Regions from separate parts of the Homo sapiens genome. Here region 1 is linked to region 2. The links are contacts of gene promoters, found by promoter capture Hi-C in human tissues and cell types (Jung and others, 2019). All regions are on one chromosome and are shown on one strand. The core of a region is centred on a gene start or on the middle of the fragment in contact, and the rest is flanking DNA. Distances in the headings are between cores, read along the strand shown.

Region 1 (3,949 bases), core at 155-2,654, 1.8 Mb before region 2:
ATCACCTGAGGTCAGGAGTTCAAGACCAGCCTAGCCAACATGGCGAAATCCCACCTCTACTAAAATATACAAAAATTAGCCAGGTGTGGTGGCATGTGCCTGTAATCCCAGCTACTCAGGAGGTTGAGGCAGCAGAATTGCTTGAACTTGGGAGGTGGAGGTTGCAGTGAGCCAAGGTTTTGCCACTGCACTCCAGCCTGGGTGACAGAGCAAGACTTTGTCTCAAAAAAAAAAATCATATCAAGTAAAAAATTAAAACGAAATAACAATGATTGTATTAATCTAACAACCAGGTTTAGAAATTAACAAAGGGGAACAGGACCTTCTACATAGATAGTAGATGCTGATATGAAGATTTGATCTTGATCCCCAAGAATGCAGTTTTCTGATATGGTTTTATCTTTAAATACATGCGGGGATTTTTTTTTTCTTGCTCTGTCTGCCAAGCCTTGGGGCACCACCCTTCTAGAACCACCTTAATCCAAGTTCAAATCTTGGTTTTACAAAAAATGTTTCAGAGACAAGATCTTGCTGTCACCCAGGCTGGAGTGCAGTGGTGCCATCACAGCTCACTTCAGCCTCAAACTCTTGGGCTCAAGTGAACCTCCTGCCTCAGCCTTCTGAGTAGCTGGGACTATAGATGCATGCCACCATGCCCAGTAAATTTTTTAAAAAATTCTTCTTGTAGAGATGGGGTCTCACTATGTTGCCCAGACTGGTCTCAAACTCCTGGCCTCAAGTGGTCCTACAGCAGCCTCCCAGAAACCTAGAAATACAGGCATGAGCCACTGTACACAGCCTACATACATGTTTTCTGGGTAAGTACTTGGTTATCTTTACAAAGTAACCCTTCCTGTAGTCCATGCTGATTGAGCATCTACTATGTATCAGGCATTATTAGGGAAATAACAAATAATGGTGAAGTGCCACTTGTCTTTTTTTTTTTTTTTTGAGACAGAGTCTCCCACTGTCACCCAGGCTGGAGTGCAATGGCGTGATCTCGGCTCACTGCAACCTCTGCCTCCCGGGTTCAAGCGATTCTCATGCCTCAGCCTCCTGAGTTGCTGGGATTATAGGTGCCCATCACCACAGCCAGCTAATTGTATTTTTAACAGAGACATGGTTTTGCCACGTTGGCCAGGCTGGTCTTGAAATCCTGACCTCGTGATTTGCCTGCCTCAGCCTTCCAAAGTGCCGGGATTATAGGCATGAGCCACCACACCAGGCTGTGAAGTGCCATTCTTTTGGAATTGACATTCTAGTGTGGGACACACACAATAAATAAATCTGTGACTATATCCCTTTATAAAAAACAATGTTCACTTTTAAATTTTACAGCCACGACATCAAGTAGGTACGGGTTTAATGTGTGCATCAGATAGATGAGCAAACAAACTTGGCTGACACCAGCCAGCTGTAAGTGATACACACACCTGGGATTTGAACCTAGGTCACCTGGTACTTCTCCCTTGCTAACAGCAGGTTAAGTAATTTAGATAAACTCTTCTACAAAAGACAACTTAAAAAGCCAGCTGAAAGATTTGTTTAATTTCCTTAAGAGGATCAAAATGATAATAAAGTGGTGAAGAAACATCTGCCAAAATTGAGGCCAGGACAAACCCAGAAGAGGTTCGCCCAGCCCACAAAGCTTTTATCCTAAGGCATTTTTCAATCTGGAAAAAAATAGCTTTGAAAATGAGCTGTTTTTTCCATAGTCTTACAGGGTAAAAGAACACAATTCAAAGCCCAGGGTCTGCCAAATTTAGGGATTCAGATACACCACTCCCCATGTCAAGCAGGGTCCGCAGGGTCAGGGAGGAGGGCAAGTATGCAGCCCTCAGGCTCACAGACAAGTTCAGATCATCTGGGAGGTCCAGGAGTCTCAAACTTTGAACTTGGATTAAGGTGGTTCCAGACTGGTGGTGCCCCACTGGCAGACACAGCTAAAAACCTATCTGGAAGACTCCACCATTATTCACGTATATACATATATATTCATACATATGTAATGCCCAATACCATCTAACATAATTCAGGTACTCAAGAAAGCAGGACATTACAGCCCAGCTTGTTGGTTCATGCCTGTAATTGCAGCATTTTGGGAGGCTGAGGCAGATGGATCACTTGAGGCCAGGAGTTCAAGATCACCCTGGCCAATATGGTGAAACCCAGTCTCTACTAAAAATACAAAAATTAGCCAGGCGTGGTGGCGTGCACCTGTAATCTCAACTACTCGGGAGGCTGAGGTAGGAGGATTGTTAGAGCCAGGGAGGTGGAGGTTGCAGTAAGCAGAGATTGCACCACTGCACTCCAGCCTGGGTGACAGAGCAAGACTCCGTCGCAAAAAAAAAAAAAAAGAAAGAAAAAGAAATAAAACAAGACATTAAGAGCTAGGATGGCAGGAACAGCCAAGAGTGCAAACGGGCTCACAGAGACTTTAGAAATGAGAATTCTTAGACACAGGCCATAAAACAACTCTGTTTACTGCCTTCAGAAACATAAAAGCCACACTTGACAATTATGGCAATTGGAAACTATAGAAAATGACACAAAAGTTTTTTAAAGGGCCAACTAGAAATTCTCAAACTGAAAAATACAGTCATTGAAGTTAAAAAGCCAGTGGCTGACTTCATAGCAGATCATCTCAGCTGAAGTGAGAATTAGTGAAGCAGAAGACAGGTCAGGAAAAAACTATCCATAATTCAGCTTGAAAAGGAAAAAAAAAGAAGGAAAATATAAAAAGGAGAGTGGTTAAAAAGATCTAACATTCATTTAATCGACATACAGGAAGAAAGAAGAATGAGATATTGGAGCAAAGCCAATGTTTGGAGAAATAATAGCCAGGAATTCTCCAGAGCTGATGACAGACATCAACTCACAGCAAATCCCAAGCAATATAAATTTGTAAAAGTCCACACCTGGATACAATGTATAAAACTGAAGACAGGCCAGGCGCTGTGGCTCAGGCCTGTAATCCCAGCATCTTCAGAGGGTGAGCTGGGCAGATCATGAGGTCAGGAGATCGAGACCATCCTGGCTAATATGGTGAAACCCGGTCTCTACTAAAAATACAAAAATTAGCCAGGTGTGGTGGCACATACCTGTAGTCCCAGTTACTCAGGAGGCTGAGGCAGGAGAATATCTGGAACCCGGGAGGCGGAGGTTGCAGTGAGCAACACTCTGTCTCAAAACAAACAAACAACAACAACAACAACAAAAAAAAACCAGTCCAAGATAATTAATCCAAACTATGTCATCATTCTTCATTAGAATCTAGAACATTTCCTTTTTTTTTTTTTTTTTTAGACGAGTGTTGGTCTGTCGCCAGGCTGAAGTACAGTGGCATGATCTCGGCTCACTGCAACCAACCTCTGCCTCCCAGTTTCAAGCGATTCTCCTGTCTCAGCCTGCCGAGTAGCTAGGGATACAGGCACGTGCCACCATGCCCAGCTAACTTTTTTTATTATTATTAGTGGGGGGGGGGGGGGTTCACCATCTTAGCCAGGCTGGTCTCGAACTCCTGACCTCAGATGATCCATCTGCCTTAAGCTCCCAAAGTGCAGGGATTACAGGCATGAGCCACTGTGCCCGGCTGACATTTAGTTTTTATACTCTTCTTTATGTATGCTCCAAACTGCAGGGACTGTATTTCACTCATCACGTGTGCCTAGCATCTGACTGAGGGACTGGATTATAATAGGAATTCATATATTAATTTGTGAGTGAATGAATTAGAAGACAAAGCAAGGTAATTCTACCAGGCATGCACTAGAAATACTGACTTACTGGGAAGGTTTCAGACAGACACACTGACAGCCTAACTCCCTGGGGAAAAACGCTTCATCTTCCTTCTTTTATTGTCTTCCATTATACATTATCTACTGCAGTTTCTTTCTTTTTTTTCTTTTTTAGAAATGGGGGCTCACACTATCGCCCAGGCTGGAGTGCA
Region 2 (4,573 bases), core at 1,143-3,642:
CTGTGTTGCTCTTGGAAACCAGCCCCTCCCATCTGTGGTGCGGGCAGTGCAGCACCCTTGCTGGTCTTTGGGGCTCTGCCTGCACCGCTGCCCTCAGATCAGCACTGGAACCTCTGGCAATTACCTGCAGCTGATGCGTTCTGGAGACTCGCCCTCTGGAAACAAGGTGCCAACCGCAGAGATAGTGAATTTCTACATTCAACATACAAGTGGGAATTCCGATTTGCAGGAGGTGAGAAAAGAAAAAAAATTTTTTAATCAAGTAAAGGTCTAGTCTGTATTTTTGAATAGCCCGTTTTCTGCTGAATCAGCTAATATTTCTGAAGCCTTTGAATTCCGAATTCCTACGGACTTTAGTTTTTCCAAAACAAAAGTGGGAAGGAAGTGTTGTTTTTCAGTATAAAGAGGTTCAACTCTATAGACTAAAACTAAAAAAGTTAAAAAGATAGGGGGGTATAACTATAGATTGGTGGATATGCCTAGAACACAGAACTTGCCAAAAACGGGGCGCTGGGGCAGGGTGCGGTCTGACAGTCTACTTGTAATATGTTTCATAATGAGGTTGCTAACTGAGCTACAGAAAGCAGGAGGAGGAAGACATAGATGCCATCAGCTCAAGCAATCTACAAATACTGCTGGTTATTTTTGTTTTATGACAAGAGTTGTTTCTGAACGGACAACCACGAGCTACCACCACCACCAGCAGCGCCCCGAAAACCGGAACTGGCCTCAAATGTACTTTTAATTCTTTTGCTCTGTCCCCACGCCCTCTGCAACTTTTGTTCTCCAACTGTACTTGTTCCGGTATGAAACCTGGCAAATAGCAAAAATCTTGAAACAAGAAGAGAGTGAGAGAGCGGAGAGAAAAGGGAGGGAAGGAAGGAGAGGGAGGAGGGGAAGAGGAGGAGGGGGGAGAGAAAGTGGTGGGGGAGAGAGAGAAGGAAAGGAGGTGGGGAGAGAGAGAGAGGGAAGACAGAAGAGAGGCAGGGAGGAAGAGGGAGAGAGGGGGACGGAGATGGGGAGGAGGCGGGAGGGAGGGAGAGAAAGAGAGAGAGAAACATATTCTGCCACCCTCCTGGCTAACTGAAATGCTTGTTCCCGAGATTACAGTAATTACTGCCCCAGCATGAGTTCCATACAAGCGCTAAATGAAACAGCACATCAATTAAAAAATAAACACTCCATTCTAGGAGAAAGACAGCCCCCTGGGACGCCCTAACAAGCGTAAATGAACCTGCCAGGCCGCCGGCCCGGGCCGCCCGCAGCCCCCCTCCCGGCCCGTCTTAAGGTGGCGGCGGAGCCGGCGGGGGCAGCGTTCGCTGGCGGTGGCCCAAGCGGCTGCTAAAAGCAGCCCGGGTCCGGCTCCGGCCTCGTGCAGAGAGCAGATACGTGTCGCGGAGTCCACGCCAGAGCGCAGCGCCGCCTCCCACCAGAGAAAAGGAGGCTCTGGCAAAAGCCTGTGAACTTGGGATGGATGAATAGACGTCCTGAAAGAACGAAGGGAAGACAGGGAATCCAGCCCCAGAGTTTCCAGCCTGTCCTATTTATAAGTTTCGAGGTTTGTTTTGAATTTTAGAAAGAAATTGAATGATTTTTCCTAAGAAAGCACGGCGGCTCGGGGCTTCCTATATTTTATCTCACCTAATTATCAAAGCCCCCTTGGAGATCTGTGCTATGATCACCCAACTCTCTAGGTGGGGAAACTGAGGCTCCCCCAGGTCACGCAGCGGAGGCGGGAGGAGAGTCTCTGGCGGGCATTTGTCCCCCGCGCCCCTCGCGCGCCCAAGGCTGGGCTCCGGGGCATCTCACCCGGGCCGTCCCGGGTCCAGCCCCAGTTTAGAATGACTCCACACCCCCCACATCTCCAAGTCTCAGAAACCATCGTTCTGAGAACCCCAAGGAGGACACCCTTTCCCGGGTCTTCTGCAGCGCCGAGCCCCGGCAGGCCTCCCCGGCGCTCGCCTGCTGCGAGACCTTCCTGCCGCCCCGAGGAGCACGAGACCCCAGCCGCCTGCAGATCACCCACATTTGCGGAGGGTGGCAGCAGGGGCTTGGCTGGTTTGAAACGCGCCGGGGAGGCGCGCGCTGCACCAAACCCCGTCCCTGTCCCCAAGGGCAGACTCGGGGTAAGGGGACCAAGACCTCCGACGCACTCAGCGCCATGGGGACAGCCATGGCCAACACTCTGTCTCTGCGGTCAATCCCAAGGTTACCAAAACTCTCCATCCGCAGAGAGCGCGCACAGCAGTGCGGACACTCGGGGACTGCCTTAAGGAAGGCTGAGCCCTGGGAGCGCGTGGACTCCGCCCTACCGCCCGGCGATTGGCTCGCGGGGCTGGGGGCGGAGACCGAGTCCGCGCTGTATAAATATTCATGAGCCGGCAGCGCGGCGCGAGCGGGGCTGGAGCCGGGAAGTTGGGCTAAGGGCGCTGCTCCCGCCGAGGAGGAGGCGGCGGCTGGGCGCGGGCCGCGCCACTCAGGTGTCCGCTCCGCCTTCCGGTCTGGATTTGCTCCTGGGTGTCCAGCAGGAAGGAGACTGTGTGCACCTCGCCCGACTGCGGCCGGAGCGCGGCGCTGACTTTTCCAGGCGGCGGGGGTCCGTCTGTCCCGGCGGCGGACGGACGAAGGACGGACGCCGGAGAAAGAGGGCGGCGGCCTGGGCCGAGGCGGGTCCCCAACTCCGGCGGCGGCGGCGGCGGCTTGGCCTTGGGGGCGGGCATGAGCCCCCGGGGGCCGAGTGGTGGCCGCCAGGGCTGACCCGGCGCGGCAAGCGGCCCGGCCCAGCCATCTTGACTGCGCACCGCGGCCCCAGAGGAAACTTGCGGCGCCTCCGCCCTCTCTGTCCGGCGGAGTCACCGCCGCCCGGCGCGGCGGGGAGAAGTGGTCGGGCGCGCGGAGAGGAGGCGAGCGAGCGCGGGACGATGAGCCGAGGCCCGGCCGCTCTGCGCCGCGAGGGCTGAGCGCGACCCGGGGCCAGCAGAGCGGACCTACGGACTGTGGCGCGCGCCTGCAGCCGCCTTCAAACCCCCGGAGCGGCGGAAAGGAGTGCGGAAGGGCCCTGCCCAGGCTGCGGGCCGCGCCGCTGCGGACGCGCCCCTAGAAGGGGTTAGATTATCGGCAGACCCCCCTCCCGGGCGAAGCATAAGGGAGACCCCAGATCACCCGCTGTACCCGTCTGCGGCTCTCTCGTGGGCCCCCCCCCCGGCACCCCTCTGCGCGCCGCCTGGAGGGCGAGGGCACCGGGCCGAGGCGCACAGCATGGAGTGGGGTTACCTGTTGGAAGTGACCTCGCTGCTGGCCGCCTTGGCGCTGCTGCAGCGCTCTAGCGGCGCTGCGGCCGCCTCGGCCAAGGAGCTGGCATGCCAAGAGATCACCGTGCCGCTGTGTAAGGGCATCGGCTACAACTACACCTACATGCCCAATCAGTTCAACCACGACACGCAAGACGAGGCGGGCCTGGAGGTGCACCAGTTCTGGCCGCTGGTGGAGATCCAGTGCTCGCCCGATCTCAAGTTCTTCCTGTGCAGCATGTACACGCCCATCTGCCTAGAGGACTACAAGAAGCCGCTGCCGCCCTGCCGCTCGGTGTGCGAGCGCGCCAAGGCCGGCTGCGCGCCGCTCATGCGCCAGTACGGCTTCGCCTGGCCCGACCGCATGCGCTGCGACCGGCTGCCCGAGCAAGGCAACCCTGACACGCTGTGCATGGACTACAACCGCACCGACCTAACCACCGCCGCGCCCAGCCCGCCGCGCCGCCTGCCGCCGCCGCCGCCCGGCGAGCAGCCGCCTTCGGGCAGCGGCCACGGCCGCCCGCCGGGGGCCAGGCCCCCGCACCGCGGCGGCGGCAGGGGCGGTGGCGGCGGGGACGCGGCGGCGCCCCCAGCTCGCGGCGGCGGCGGTGGCGGGAAGGCGCGGCCCCCTGGCGGCGGCGCGGCTCCCTGCGAGCCCGGGTGCCAGTGCCGCGCGCCTATGGTGAGCGTGTCCAGCGAGCGCCACCCGCTCTACAACCGCGTCAAGACAGGCCAGATCGCTAACTGCGCGCTGCCCTGCCACAACCCCTTTTTCAGCCAGGACGAGCGCGCCTTCACCGTCTTCTGGATCGGCCTGTGGTCGGTGCTCTGCTTCGTGTCCACCTTCGCCACCGTCTCCACCTTCCTTATCGACATGGAGCGCTTCAAGTACCCGGAGCGGCCCATTATCTTCCTCTCGGCCTGCTACCTCTTCGTGTCGGTGGGCTACCTAGTGCGCCTGGTGGCGGGCCACGAGAAGGTGGCGTGCAGCGGTGGCGCGCCGGGCGCGGGGGGCGCTGGGGGCGCGGGCGGCGCGGCGGCGGGCGCGGGCGCGGCGGGCGCGGGCGCGGGCGGCCCGGGCGGGCGCGGCGAGTACGAGGAGCTGGGCGCGGTGGAGCAGCACGTGCGCTACGAGACCACCGGCCCCGCGCTGTGCACCGTGGTCTTCTTGCTGGTCTACTTCTTCGGCATGGCCAGCTCCATCTGGTGGGTGATCTTGTCGCTCACATGGTTCCTGGCGGCCGGTATGAAGTGGGGCAACGAAGCCATCGCCGGCTACTCGC

The links. The method cuts DNA at HindIII sites, captures the fragments that hold promoters and counts their contacts. A contact is called where the count stands out against the background at its distance.
Region 1: a contact is called between a fragment that was not itself captured here and the fragment with the promoter of FZD8 in region 2, in 1 of the 25 tissues and cell types used here (dorsolateral prefrontal cortex).

The regions. Positions count from the first base shown.
Region 1 is chr10:37,481,369-37,485,317 of GRCh38, reverse strand. No RefSeq gene overlaps it. Among named protein-coding and RNA genes, the nearest start is that of LINC00993, 170 kb to the right of the region's middle. The HindIII fragment of the contact is 5,492 bases long and covers 1-3,949 here.
Region 2 is chr10:35,640,115-35,644,687 of GRCh38, reverse strand. FZD8 (frizzled class receptor 8) reads left to right here and starts at 2,392. Exons shown (of 1, transcript NM_031866.3): 1 at 2,392-4,573. The coding sequence starts at 3,259. LOC124902528 (zinc finger protein 469-like) reads left to right here and starts at 1,842. Exons shown (of 2, transcript XM_047426128.1): 1 at 1,842-2,058; 2 at 2,275-2,960. The coding sequence starts at 1,842. The coding sequence ends at 2,960. MIR4683 (microRNA 4683) reads left to right here and starts at 3,436; the gene lies at 3,436-3,516. It overlaps LOC105376494 (a long non-coding RNA gene), which reads right to left and starts at 1,373. Exons shown (of 2, transcript XR_930820.3): 1 at 1-1,373. RefSeq lists silencers at 3,844-3,933, 4,473-4,573 and an enhancer at 4,044-4,203. The HindIII fragment of the contact is 11,910 bases long and covers 1-4,573 here.